Linked DNA regions of Homo sapiens: region 2 is linked to region 1. The links are contacts of gene promoters, found by promoter capture Hi-C in human tissues and cell types (Jung and others, 2019). All regions are on one chromosome and are shown on one strand. Each heading gives the region's core, a stretch centred on a gene start or on the middle of the fragment in contact. The rest is flanking DNA. Distances are from core to core; before and after follow the strand shown. Region 1 holds the start of CNIH2 (cornichon family AMPA receptor auxiliary protein 2). Region 2 holds the start of PITPNM1 (phosphatidylinositol transfer protein membrane associated 1).

What was found. Contacts are between HindIII fragments. The study calls those that stand out against the background at their distance.
Region 2: a contact is called between the fragment with the promoter of PITPNM1 here and the fragment with the promoter of CNIH2 in region 1, in 1 of the 25 tissues and cell types used here (heart left ventricle).

What each region holds. Positions count from the first base shown.
Region 1 is chr11:66,276,925-66,283,726 of GRCh38, reverse strand. It overlaps CNIH2 (cornichon family AMPA receptor auxiliary protein 2), which reads right to left and starts at 5,552. Exons shown (of 6, transcript NM_182553.3): 1 at 5,190-5,552; 2 at 1,400-1,468; 3 at 947-994; 4 at 580-692; 5 at 336-479; 6 at 1-157. The coding sequence starts at 5,270. The coding sequence ends at 130. RAB1B (RAB1B, member RAS oncogene family) reads right to left here. Exons shown (of 6, transcript NM_030981.3): 6 at 6,235-6,802. It overlaps LOC107984340 (a long non-coding RNA gene), which reads left to right and starts at 5,202. Exons shown (of 2, transcript XR_001748274.1): 1 at 5,202-5,232. RefSeq lists an enhancer at 778-1,281 and a silencer at 5,447-5,776. The HindIII fragment of the contact is 9,186 bases long and covers 1,483-6,802 here.
Region 2 is chr11:67,500,277-67,507,078 of GRCh38, reverse strand. It overlaps PITPNM1 (phosphatidylinositol transfer protein membrane associated 1), which reads left to right and starts at 1,716. Exons shown (of 24, transcript NM_004910.3): 1 at 1,716-1,891; 2 at 2,858-2,976; 3 at 4,361-4,575; 4 at 4,666-4,787; 5 at 4,993-5,217; 6 at 6,658-6,802. The coding sequence starts at 2,899. It overlaps CDK2AP2 (cyclin dependent kinase 2 associated protein 2), which reads left to right. Exons shown (of 4, transcript NM_005851.5): 4 at 67-582. The coding sequence ends at 134. RefSeq lists silencers at 1,420-2,049, 2,260-2,419, 2,430-2,549, 2,630-2,729 and enhancers at 2,508-3,257, 3,258-4,007. The HindIII fragment of the contact is 15,242 bases long and covers 1-6,802 here.

The DNA of each region.
Region 1 (6,802 bases), core at 4,303-6,802:
GGTTGGAGAGGCTGGGGGCACCAGTGCCCCCTCCCTCCCCAGGGCTGAGGCCTCTGCGGCCAAGGGGCAGGGCTGGGGGTGCACAGGCGTCCGGTCCGTTCTGGGCTCGCTCCCTGGCCGGCTTCCCCCTTAGAAACTCACCAACGTATAAACCATACTGTAGGAAGATGAGCCAGTGAGCCTAGCCCTGCACACACACAGCCACCCAGATGCCCACCTGGTCACACCCTGGGCTGCCCTCAGTCCTCAGGGGCAAAAGGCAGGAACTTGGGATTGGAAGCGTGATGCTGGGACATCCCTTCCCTGAGTTCTGACTGCTGTGGGCAAGGCCTCACCTGTACAGGTAATAGAAGAAGGAGAGCAGGTAGAAGGCAAGTTTGCACCAGGACTCCTTCTGGCAGTAGTTGAGAATGTCAGCATTCATGATGGAGACCGCATCATACATGACCTCAGAGCCATCTGCAGGACGGTGGAAGTACCTGGGGCAGACAGGGGCCTGAGTGTCTGCCATCAGGACTCCCACCCCCATCCTGCCCCTGTTCCCCATCTCAGCCTCCCCAAGGCAGCTGCTACCCTCACCTCCAGAGGTGGTAGAAGAGGAGGGGGATGTTGAGGCCCAGGGTCACCCACTCTGCTGCACACAGAAACATCAGACAGAAGAGGCCGTGGATGGAGTATTCTGGGACCACCAGCTGGGGGAGTGAGGGTGAGAGGTCAGCGGCCTGGTGCTATGACAGACCAGCCTTCAAGGGGACAGAGAGGAGCTGGGGTTTGGGAGGTGCCCACCCACCGTGACCTCTGGGGATTAAAAGGCCTCTGGCTTCCCACTCCCTCCCAAGTAGAGTGGATCAAACAGGCCCAAAGCAGGGGAAGGCCTGGTTCTGGGCCACAGACAGTGGGGGCAGCGCTGGGCTAGGAGCCTCCTGCCCCCAGCCCTGACACTGACCTTCCTCAGGAGGCAGCAGATGCGTTCGATGTTTTTTAAACGCTCGCGCTGTTGGGGGAAGGAAAAGGCCGCGATGGGGTGGCGGAGAAGCAGGTACTGGAGCAGCTCCCACCGCTCCACATGTGGCCGCCAGGGGGCGCCAGAGCGATCTCTGCGGCACTGTCGGCACGGCCGGGAAGCAGCCGCGCCGTCCCCATGGCGACCGTCACCATGGAAGGGCCTTCACCCGCGTCTCCATGGCAACGGCCCAGAGCCTGGCAACCACCGCCCCGCCAAGAGGAACTCAGCCCTGAGCCCGCGCCAGGTGTTTGCTGGGGGCGGAGACAGAGAGGAAGGGGGCATGGCCGTAGGCCCCCCACCCCACCCCCGTCTTCCCGTCTCCCACCCCCAGCCCACGACAGATGGAAAGACAGACGGACGGACACACCTCGGCACAGCACATGTATCACTTACTGCCCGCGCAGGGTTCCCCTGGTCGATGGGGTTCTTGAAGTCGGTCCGCAGCTCATCAAAGGCTATGATCTGGGGGAGGGGCGTGTGCCCGTCAGGGTTGGGGCAGCAGCTTATGGCCTTCCCCCAAGTCCTTCTGTGGGATAGTTTACTGAAGAGGACCAGCCAGGTGGAGCTTGTTGCAAAGGTGGAGAAACCGAGGTCCAGGGAGGAGCAGGGCCTGGTCCAAGGTCATTACAACAGTCCAGAAGGGAACCCTAGCGTCTGGATGCCCAGTTCAGGCCCATGTCCACTACACCCCCTTCCAAAACATCCCAAGACATGGCTTCGTGTCTGCCCTGCCAAGTCTCAGGCCCTGTGCTGAGCACTGGGGCTCCAGAGGCCTGGGATGCAGCCCCTGCCCAGGAGGAACCCAGGCCCAGAGGGATGATCACTCTGCCTTCCAGGTGATCAGGGTTTGGGGTACAGGGAGGACCTGGAGTGGGCGCTTAACCCTGTGTGGGGGGTGAGGGAGTTCAGGCTGGACTCGGAGTAGGTGTTGGTGAGCAAATGGGGGAAATGCAGTCCAAGCAGTAGAAGGTGCAATGGCAGAGGGGTGAAAGGTCAGGAGACATTCAGGAGGCTGCGGGTTTCATGGGGCTGGCGTGACAGCGCAGCGAGCAGGAAGAAAAGAGAGAGTGGTGGAAGAGGAGCTGGAGAATTCAGCAGAGCCAGACATGGGCGCCCTGTGAGGCCAGAGCAGGAGTTTGGACTTACTTTAACACAAAAATTTTGGGGGGAGGCATTGAAGAGTACACAGCAGCAGAGTGGGGTGGTCAGGTCCATGTCTTAGGATTGGTCCATGTCTCAGGATTGGTGGGGCAGGAAATCCGAGCTCACTGACAGTCACAGCTGAGATCTAAGTGGTGCTTCTCCTGGCCGGTATGTGGATTCACTCATTTAATTCTTAACAACCTTATGACTTAGGTACTAGTTTTATTTTCATGTCTGTTTTGCAGATGAGGAAGCTGAGGCAGGTTAAGTGACTTGTCCAGGGCCACACGGCTGGTTAGTGGATTCTAACCCAGTGTGACTCCAGAGTTAAAATTCCTAACCACTGTGTCATACTCAGGCCAGACCAGCAAGGGGACGGTTTGGAGGGTTAGGGGCAGGGCTGATGGTGGTCTGAGTGAGGAGAGTTGTAGTGGAGACGGAAGGCGTGCATGGGATTCTACAGCTCTTTAGGAGCCAGACTCCAGAGGGTTCAAATGGCTGAGAAGTGAAGGCAGAAATCTAAGGTGGCTTCAGGTGTTGGGGTGTCTGGCAGACGGCAGTGTCCTCACGGGTGGAAACTCTCCAGGGGAGCAAGTGTTTGAGGGGATGATGGGATGGGAAGGAGCTGACAGGTGACTTGGGGGAAATGGGCTGGCAGAGGAGCCTGCTGGGGTCCCCTCCTGTCGGCTCCAGCCCTAGGATGAGGCAGCAGGCCCACCACCCCCAGGCATCCCAGGCCCCAGACGGCTCAGAGAGAAAGAACATGGGCTTCCTGGAGGGAGCTGAGGCCATCTGGATCATCCCCCCTCCCCGCCCAGCTCCCCATTGACTCTGGGCAGCGCCACTTGGCACGCACAGCAACAGGGTCCACAGGGAGCAGAAGGGTGCCGTCTGTACCCCAGAGCTGGCACCACCAGCAGGCGGCGGGCGTCACCCCTCCCACCCCCCAGGCTGCCTGGCGCTGACTCAGCCCCCCGGAACAAACAATCCCCCATGGTGACAGCTGACACGCGTCACTCACCGCCAGGGTTGCCTAGGAACCACTGGGGCCTGGGCTGAGGGTCTGGAGTGGGATCTGGGGTCCCGCCCTGTTAAGAGTCTAGTTCTTAGCAGCTGTGGACTGAGGACCACGCCTCCTATCCCCTACCACCCAGCAGGCCGCACTAGGCACTCTGATGTGCACAGGTCCACTTTGCCGGCGAGGAACCAGACTTGGGACAAATGACTTGCTAAGATTGTCCAGCTAAATGGCTGAGTGGACAGAGTACCTCACACAGGTGCTCAATCAATATCTGTTGAATGAACAAAGACATTTCTTCAAAGCTTGGGCCTTTCCTCCCAGCCTGGGCACTCCACAAGGGCAAAGTCTGGGTTTTATTCATCCTTGACCCCCTCAAAGCCACCCAGAGCCTGATCTTTGGGAAGCATCAATGCAGGCGTGGTGGATAAACTGCTGAGGATCCCCTGAGGACAGGGACCCCACAGGGGCTGTGGGAAGGCCCTGGGTGGGGAAGGCCCCAAAAAGAGGCTTCTTGAATTCCAGGAGCCCTTCTCCCAGGAGCTGGTCAGCTCTGCATTCCCTAGCCTGTGGCCCCCAGCTCCCTCCAGTCCTTAGAACCCTAGCCCTCCTGCCCCTACCCCACAGAAAGAAAAATAGAGTAACTCGGGGTGCGGGGGAGAGGGGGAAAGACAAAGCAACCAAGACCCAGAGAGAGAGCAGAGCCAGGCCAAGGAGTGACAGGGCTGGAGCTGGGGTGTGTGCTGAGGTGCCTTTGGGGGCTCACTCTTCACACAGTAGGGGTTCAGTCTATGGATTCCCGATGTCAAAGAGCAAGGTGGCAGGGGATGGCAAAGGGAGCGCAGGGGGAACCATGGAGCAGGCGGCAGGTCCCAGGAAGAGAAAGGAGAGAGGAAGTGGAGAGCCCGGGAAAGAAGCAGGTGAGGCACCGGGAGGAAGGAGGGAAGGGCTATGGGAAATGGGATTGAGGGAGGGATAAGAGGACCCCTGAAAGGGAATGACAATCAGGGAGGTGTGCGCGGGAGGTGTGAGCAGAGGATGCTGAGCTGAGCCAGCCAGGGCCGAGCTGGGCAGGCTGTTACAGAAACAGGCACGGGGTTTGGGTGGGGGTGGGGACGGAGGGCAGTAAAGTGGGGCCAGGGGCCCCCAACAACCAGCTGGAGGCTGATTGATAGTTCTGTAGTGAGGGGACGGGAGCCAGGCAGAGGAGGCCCTGGAGGAGAGGAGCGGGAGGGGAGGAGGAGGGAGCCTGGGGGAAGCGATGGGTCGGATGCAGGATGAGGAATGGACATTTTGAAGAACCAGGTGTGAGGCTAGGCCAGGGCGAGGGACAGACCAAGGGGTATGTGAGAGACAAAGGGGAAGGGGGACAGGAAGAGGAGGGAAGCTGGAAAATGGAGAGGAAACCTGGGGGGCTGGGAAGCCCCCAACAGGAGGGGTAGGGAAACCCAAGGTGAGCCGGTGGTGGGGGCTAGGTCTCTGGGGGCTGATGAGAGCCAACTGCTGCTTGGTCAGGGAGGGGGCTGGGAAGGCAAAGGGTTAATGGACTCTGAGATCTGTGGGTCCTGTAAACAGATGCAGTTGCCATAGCAACCAGCTCCATCACTCTGGCTGGAAAAACCCACAAAGGCGGGGGGGGGGGGGCAGCAGACAGACAAACTGCCCGACGGACTAATGGAGGCGGCTGGATGGTGGTGGGGGGGGACATAGAAGATAAAGCAACAAAAATGCCAGAATTCCACCCCCCACCTCACGGGCTGCATGGGAGCAGAGGACGAGGGCAGAGGAGGGGGTCAGAGACCGACTGACATACACACAGACAGGCGGGGGCGGCGGAGGAAGGGGGGCCCCGGGAAGAAAGCCGACCACGGGGGGTGTTAATGGGGGCGAAGCCGACAAGCCGACGGCTGGGGGATAGCAAGTTTCCCCTGGGCTCTGAGACCACCCGCCCTGGGTCCCTCCAGCTCCGCGTGGCCCCTGCCCCCCACCCCGCCCCCAGCCCCAGCCCCAGCCCGGCCTTACGTGCCAGATGACAAAGAAGATGAGGGAGGCGCACAGCACCAGGGTGAGCATGTAGCAGAACGCGGCGAAGGTGAACGCCATGGCCCCCGCGCCGGGCGGCGGCCCGGGGGGCGCCAGCGCGGGGCCCGGGCGCAAGGGGACGCCCCCCGGCCCGCGCTTAGGGCCGGCCGGGCATGGCCCGTGGGGCTCGGGGGACGTGGGTGATGCGGCCGGGACCGGGACCGCGGGGCCGTGGGGGGCGCGGGGCGCGGGCCGGTGGGCTCGGGGGGCGCGTCCGCTGCCGGCTGCCCGGGCCCCGATCGCTCATCCTGCGATCCCTCGCCCGCGGCTCCCTCGCTCTCCAGCCCGCGAAGCCGGCGGGGCGGAGCCGGGGGCGGGGCCGCCGCGCGAGCGGCCTCGGGCGGGGCTGGGTCTCCGCGGGCCCCTCGTCTGCCCGCCCGGCTCGGGCGCCACCCCCAGCCCCGACAAGCCCGCGGCCGTTCACCCTCCGGACAGCGTAGACGCGGCCGCCCCCGGCACCCCGCACCCCTCGGCACTCCAGCCACCGGCACAGCCGCACTCGGCCCCCTCGGGCGGGCGCTCAGGGCAAAGGCTGAAGTGCGAGGCACTTGTCACTGTCGGAGACGGCAGAAGCACCTGGCTGGGACACACAATGACGCCAGGACAGGGGCTGAATGGGAGCAGTGGGGTTTTGGGGGGCGCTGAAGGAGGTTGGGCCAGGTGCAGTGGGGGCCCTCTCAGCGGCTGCGCGACCCCACACCTCTGCCGTGTGCCCCGCGGGAGTTGGCGGCGGCACGCCAGGTATGAGCTGATGGCCGCCTGCCTCTTTCCCTGACAGAACGGTGCTGGGCCCTTGGGGACAGACCACAGAAGCACAAGCAGCTTTCCTGGCCTCAGGAAACGGGGTCAAGGGCTTTTGCCAGCAGCCTTAGGACACAGAAACCAAGCCAGGACCCCCGTGCACCCCACCAAGCCCAGGGTTCCAGTTCCATCCCCCCACCCCAAGGCTGGGCTTAGACCACAGACCACACTTGGCCACCACAACTTCCTTGCAAAAACCCTCAGCTCACCCGAGGGCCAATGGAAATTTATTAATTTTTTTTGTCCTTTTCCATCTTTCCCCAAGTGGCTTTTCCTTGCAAAATGCCTGACATGACACCAGAGGGGAACCTGGGAGCGGGGGGCACCCCAAGGGGGCAGCCCAGGGACTTAAATACAAGCTGGAGGGCAGGGCACAGGTGGGACAGGCAAGAGACAGCACGAGGGACATGGCTTCTCAGGGAGACCAAAGACTTGCTTTCTTGCAGGAAGCAGCTGTGCCAGAGGGCAGGGGACTAGGATCCTGGGTGCAGAGTGGGTGAGCAGAGAGGCCCCCAATCCTGGATGGAACCCACATTCCCCAGAGAAGTAGCGGCAGGGGATGAGGGCCTTCCCTGGTGGGCTCCAGAGACGGAGTGGGGAGTGAGCCAGATGTGCTACCTTGGGGAAAGGGAGGAGGTGCTAGCAGAGTGAGGGTTAAGGCTGGTGCCCAGCCTCTGGCACGGTGGGCCTTCCGCCTCCGCCTGACATGGGGACAAAGGGGCACGGTGGGCAGGCAGCGCATGGGTCTGTCT
Region 2 (6,802 bases), core at 467-2,966, 1.2 Mb before region 1:
GGGTCCTCCTCTGGAGGGCAGTGGGTGGGGCTGTGGAGGGTTGCTGAGACCCCACCCCACCCCCAGGTATCATCCATGCCCGGGCCCTAGTCAGAGAGTGCCTGGCAGAGACAGAGCGGAACGCCCGCACGTAACAGGAAGCGCCTCGGCCTCAGCGTCTGGACCTATCCGGCCACTGCAGAGCACCCGCTTCTCCCTGGCCTTCATCCCGAGTTGCACTAACCATCCTGGGCTTCCTGTCCTGTGTCCCTTGGTGGGTCCCCTCCAGGAACCAAGGAGTGGCCCTCCAGGTGGCAGCACTAAGGACACCCCCCCACAACAAGAGTTAGCAGCGAGGTCCCCATGAGTCCCACCCATGACCTGCCGACAGTGTTGCCCACCGGAACTTTTGTGGCCCCTACCGCTCAGCCCTTCCCAGCACTTCTCCCACTTTGTCCCGAGCCTCCTTCTCCCCCAGCAGGGGCACAGGCCTGGCACCTCCCTGCCTTGTGTCCTGAGCCATAGTGACTCTTTTATCTGTGTGTCTTTTGCTAAATATGCCCTTTTTATATTAATAAAAGATGATTTGGAGTTGTGCTCTCAGCTCTGAGCCTTTCTGGGTCTGGTTCTTCAGCTAAGCCTGGGTGGGCCAGGCAGAGACAGGGGAAGAGGAGACTATGGATGGGGAGGGTGTGATTAAATGAGGTTTGACTTGCCTCTGTAGGCCATCAGCCTTTGGTGGGACCTGGGCCCTCTCCGCCCCAGCCGTGGCGCTGAGAGCCCTGGGCCTTCCTGTGGTGCCACCAGGGGGCAGCACAGGGCCTGGCTGCTTCCACAGCCCTTGGCGCTGTGGGCAGCCTGGGCCTGGAGGGCGCTTCCTCTGGATTGGCGGTGATGCCTGGCAGCATGGAAATGCCAGTTCACGTAAGCCACTCCCTCACACGCCCTAATGCCCTGACAACACCCCAGCCTCTGAATCAGCCCTGAAGGTCTCTGACTTCTCAGAGAGAAAGGGCACTGCTGCTTCCAGCACTTGGCCTCAGTGTCAAGGGGAGGGGCTGGCGGGGTGCTGCCGTCACTGCCCCAGCACCTTGTAGCAGGCTGGGTGGGATCCCATGAACCCAGCCTTGGGGTGCCTCGTGAGGCCTTTGCCCAGACTCCGGGTGGCTGGGTGACCGGACTTGTGGACCCGGAAGGCAGAGGTGGGGGAGGCTTTGTGGCACCATGCAGGGGCTAGCCCAGCCACTCACAGTGACAGCCCGTTTCTGCCTGGGCGTGTAGCTGGGTGACCATAGAGGCCTGGGGCCCTGGAGCCGAGCCCAGCCCTAGGTGGAGGCATGTCAGAGCCACCAGCTTCTGGCTAGACTGGTGGGGAGGCATTTCCTCAACCCTGGGTCCCAAATCTAAGGACTGCAGAGAGTGAGAAGAGGAGAGTGGGCCTGGGACCCCCCATATCAAACCACCCTGTGACTGCACACAGGAGGGCTGGGCTAGGGTGGAGATAGGAACTAAGAGTCTTTGGGGACCCCAATCAGCACAGAGGGACTAGGAAGAGCCAGAATTTAGGCAATGGCCTTTTTCCCACTGCCCGGGGGAAGGAAGGCAGGGGCCTCCCTCCCTGCCTCCTCCGCTGCAGGCGGGGCTGCCCGGACCCCGCCGGGGTGGGGAGGGCCAGCCGGGCCCAGGAAGGGGGCGGGGCGGCCGCAGTGACGCGGCGGGCGTCGGGGAGGGACTGCAGGGGCGCCGGCGGGCGGATCGAGAGGAAGGTCGGGGCCATGGGCCGGCACTGCGCCTCGGGAGGGTCCGGCCACCGCTGGAACCCGAGGCCGGGGCTGGGGGCGCTCCGGGCTCCGACCCACGGGCCGGCCGGCCCTGCCCGGGCTGGGTGAGGGGCGCCCGCCTCAAGCTAGAGGTGAGCCGGGGCGTCGGCAGGCGGGCCAAGAGCGCGGCAGGGGACCGGGACGCCGGCGAGCAGAGGGAAGTGGGGACAACGGGGCCTCTCGCTTGCTCGCGGGGTGCGAGTGGGGGATGGAGGGGTGCCTGCAGCGGAACCTCGGTGCCAGTCTGGGGCGCAGGTGGACGGAGCGGGTCTCCAGGGCCATGGCCCGTGGGATACCAAGTGGAGCCACTCTGGCCTCAGCCTGAGGAGGGCTCACCCCCTGGGAAGAGGACGGAGTGGCTGCCTAGGCGCGTGGAGAGCCGGCGAGGGCCAGGGGTCCAGGAAGGATGCTGGGAGGGGGAGGTCGAGGACCCGGCTGCCCAAGAAGGCAGATCTGGAGGGCGGAGGAGATTACCGGTCCCGGAAGGTAGGTTCGGGTGCAGGGCGTGGGGAACCCTGGCAGAGATGCTGGGCGCACTGGGCCACTCCGCGCAGAGACACTCGGGGAACAAAGCTCTAGGTGGACGTCCGAGAGTGGGGGACTTGGGACCCCGCCGACTCCGGGAAGGGGATGCAAGGGGCGGGTCCCCGAGGGGCCGGTCGCGGAAGGCGGGCCCGGAAGGAGGGGCCCCGGGGCTTCGGGGGCGCGCCCAGAGGGATGCCGTTTCCCGGGGTTAGGACGCGGTCGCAGCGGGAGAGGTGAGGTGGCCCTCCCGCCCGCCGGCCGGAGCCTGGCGCTCCGGGGGGCCCGCGTCAGCGCGCGGTTGCCATGGCGACGGGCGGGCGGGGGGCGGGGGCTGCGCGGAAAAGAGGTCAGCGCTCAGCCTCGCTGCGGCTCCCGGCCCCGGCGGCGCGGGCGGCGGTGCTAGGCTCGCCTCTGCCTCCCTCGTGGCGGGCCCGGACATGGGGTCCCGTGGCCTGAGTCCCTCGGCCGGCGCGCAGGGCTCGGGGCCGCGCGCAGCCTCCCCGCACTGACTGTCGCGCCGTGCCCTGCGCCAGGAGGAGCGGAGGCCGCGCGCGGCCCGCCGAGCGCCTTCAGGATGCTCATCAAGGAATACCACATTCTGCTGCCCATGAGCCTGGACGAGTACCAGGTGGCCCAGCTCTACATGATCCAGGTGAGGGCGGCGGGGAGAGGGCACCCGGGCAAGGGGTGGAGCCCTGCCGACCCCGCCAGCCCTGCCCCGGGGCTGGGACCGGCTGGGAGCCCGGAGGAGGCAAGAGAGGCCCCCCTTCAGATGTGGGAATGGGGAAGGACTGTGGGAAGAGGGGCAGGAGGGCCGAGTGGTGCTTCCCATCCGCTAAGTGCCCAGCCCTCCTCTGATCTCCTGTAATCCTCCTCAGGATCTGTAATCCCATCGGGGAAGGAAAAAGCGCCCAGGAGGCGGCAAGAATGAGGAGGGGGGCCTCCGCGGCAGAGGAAGGCGGGAGGGGGTCTGGAGAAGTGGAGGGTCCTGGCCATCCCTGGAGGTCAGGGAGATGTGGTGAGGACCAGGTGTCAAACCTGGAGCAGGGACAGGGCAGCAAGGATGGGAGGGCGAGGAGGCTCTGGTGTAGGGCAGTGAGAAGAGTGGGCCAGGGCAGGCCCTCAGCAGTGGCCGGGTTGGTGCGGGGCCTGGGGGAGTCTGCTCCAGATCTGTCCCCAGCACAGCAGGACCAGAATCTCATAAAGCAAGAGGGCCCGGACCCCGCCTCGGGCTTGAAAGGGCCATCTGAGCCCCGGAGCAATAGAAGGCAGGATCTGGGGGCTCTCAAGCTCTGAGGGGTGTGGCGGAGCTGGGATTGGGAGGCGGCCAGGGCCTCCCAGAGAGGGAGGGGGCCAGGGTCAGGGCCTCTGAGAGCTGGAGGCCCCTTTTCCTCTCCTAGTCCCTTCTTCCTTGCCAGCCACCCCGGCCTCCTTGCCACCTGCCAGCACATCCAGTATGCTCCCACCTTGGGGCTGCACTGGCTTCCCCCGGCCTTGAGCACCTCCTCCTACCTCACCTCCTTAAAGTCATGTTCAAGCCATGGTCACATTGTGTTATTAGCAAGGCCTTCCCTGACTATCAGATCAAAACTGCAGCCCCCAACCCTCATCACCTATACCCTACTCTAGGCTTTCTTTTCCTATAGCACCTAGCGCCTTCTAACACACCACATAATTTGCTTTTTCCTTTTGTCTGTCTCCTTCCACTAGAATGTAAGTTCCACGAGGGCAGGGATCTTTGTTCTATTCATCAATATATCTCAATTGATATAATCCCAAACACTGCCTGGAGTGGAGCAGACACTCAATGAATACTTGAATGACTCAACTGAGTGCTGGGTTGCAGACCCCATGCGGGGCTGGGCTGCATCTGTGATTCTGATCCCAGGGAGCTTTGGTGGGGCGGGGTCTGGTTTCAGGGAGTTGAAAAGGCTGGGACCAGGGCCCCAGAGCTGTGTAGAACACCAGGCTGAGCTGGGGATCCCAGATGCTAAGCTGGGGCTGAGCTCCCTGTCCTGCTCTCCCTTGGGCCACAGAAAAAGAGCCGGGAGGAGTCTAGTGGTGAGGGCAGCGGCGTGGAGATCCTGGCCAACCGGCCCTACACGGATGGGCCCGGGGGCAGCGGGCAATACACACACAAGGTGTACCACGTGGGCTCCCACATCCCAGGCTGGTTCCGGGCACTGCTGCCCAAGGCTGCCCTGCAGGTAGAAGAGGAATCCTGGAATGCCTACCCCTACACCCGAACCCGGTGAGTGGGTGAGCTGGGCATGGTCCGAGGCCAGGAGGGGAGCGGCCCTGGTGGGTACAGCAGTGAGCCTCACCCGTGCCTTCTGCCCAGGTACACCTGCCCTTTCGTGGAGAAATTCTCCATTGAAATTGAGACCTATTACCTGCCTGATGGGGGGCAGCAGCCAAACGTCTTCAACCTGAGCGGGGCCGAGAGGAGACAGCGCATCCTGGGTGAGGCCTGGAGCTATGGGGGGACCCTGGCGCCCCTCTCAGGCTCCTGGCTGCCTCAGTGGGCAGCCTCTGAGAAGTCCCAGCCCTCTCCAGGCCTCATGTCCTGTCTGCAAAAGGACGGGAACTGTCATCCAGTCCCAAGAGGGTGCCAGGAGCGGGGGCTCAAAGGGGCTGGCGCTGCTCAATGCTTGCCGAACTCCCTCAGACACCATCGACATCGTGCGGGATGCAGTGGCCCCAGGCGAGTACAAAGCAGAAGAGGACCCCCGGCTTTATCACTCGGTCAAGACGGGCCGAGGGCCACTGTCTGATGACTGGGCACGGACGGCGGCACAGACGGGGCCCCTTATGTGTGCCTATAAGCTGTGCAAGGTTGAGTTCCGCTACTGGGGCATGCAAGCCAAGATCGAGCAGTTCATCCATGATGTAGGTGAGCACCCAGCTGCGGGAGGTCCCACTTACCCAGCATGCCCCAGACCCCATGTTTAGGGCCAGGGATGCTCCCATCCACTGGGGACACAGAAGCAGAAAGCCATCGTTTCCATTTGAGGTGGGGAGCACTAGGGCAGAAGCGGCCGCACAGCCTAGCCAGGCATCCACAGAGCAGGAAGCTGGTAACATGATCTACAAGGTCCATACTGGCTCTGACATTCAGAAATGCTGCTGCTTCCATTAAGATTCTAAGATTCTCCATCATCCTATGAGTTAGATGAGACTTAGAGACACTCAGGAAGGTCACCGGCTCTAACTGGCAGCATGCTAAGGAGTGCAGGCTGAGGCTGTGACTCTGATGTCATTCTCTCTGGGATTCCCCACCTCCACTCCCAGTTTCTAGTGTTCCAGCCTTTGGCCCTGGTGTTCAGGAGCCCCAGTCCCACACCTCCCCTCAACCTGACCCCACCACGCCTACAATTCAGCCCTGCCTCAGTGCCCAGGTCATCTGCACACAGAGGGATGGTCCCTAGTTGGAGAGACCAGCGGCCTGGCTTCTGTCCCACTACTGACCCCCACCCCATGGTACCTCCAGCAAGGCACTGGCCATCTCTGCACTTTAAATTTCTCTTCAGTAAATGAGGAAGAGGTTGAGTCAGATATGAAGAGCTAATACTGACAGTGATTGCGACACACAGACCCATGGCTAATTACTTTTTGTGCAAGATCTCCCTTAACACCCACAACACCCCACCAGGTAATGACGATGATTATTCCCATTTTACAGGTGAGGAAATTCAGCTTAGAGAATAATGAGGACGCCTTGTCTTGCATTTGGAAAAATGCCAAAAAGCACAAATAAGAAAAATATAGCCACTACTAAGATTCCAATATATCTCCTCGCAGAAGTTTATAATTATCATTCAACCATCATTACTTTATTTCCTAGACATTTAAGAGTTTCTAACTTTTTCTTCTGCTTAAGATAAAAATATCCCAGAATGGGTATCATCTTTCGCTACAACCTTCATTGAGTGCCAACACTTCCATTAACTGTTAACACCTTCATTAACCATCAACAATTTCATTAACTGTTAAACCCTTAATTAACTGTTAATTCCTCAGAAGTCAGCAGGAAGCCAGCCAAAAGCAAGAACAAGCATTGGTCCCTGCTTCTGGAGTGATGGGGTGGGGACAGTGCTGAGAGTTAGGGTGTGCAGAGAGACAGGAAAGGCAGTGGGCGGGGGGGAGTCAGGCAGGAAGACAAATGCCCCACTTTCCACTCCCATTCCTGGACTGCACTGGCCCTGCCCTACTTTGTGGCTCTGGGTGGGTGGTGTCCCCAGGGGAGCCATTATCCAACCTCAAGGCTGGGCATGTAGCTGCGGTGGCAGGGAAGCAGGGGGAGGGGGCAGTTCTGACGCCTGGGCACCTGCAGGTCTGCGTCGGGTGATGCTGCGGGCCCACCGCCAGGCCTGGTGCTGGCAGGATGAGTGGACAGAGCTGAGCATGGCTGACATCCGGGCACTGGAAGAGGAGACTGCTCGCATGCTGGCCCAGCGCATGGCCAAGTGCAACACAGG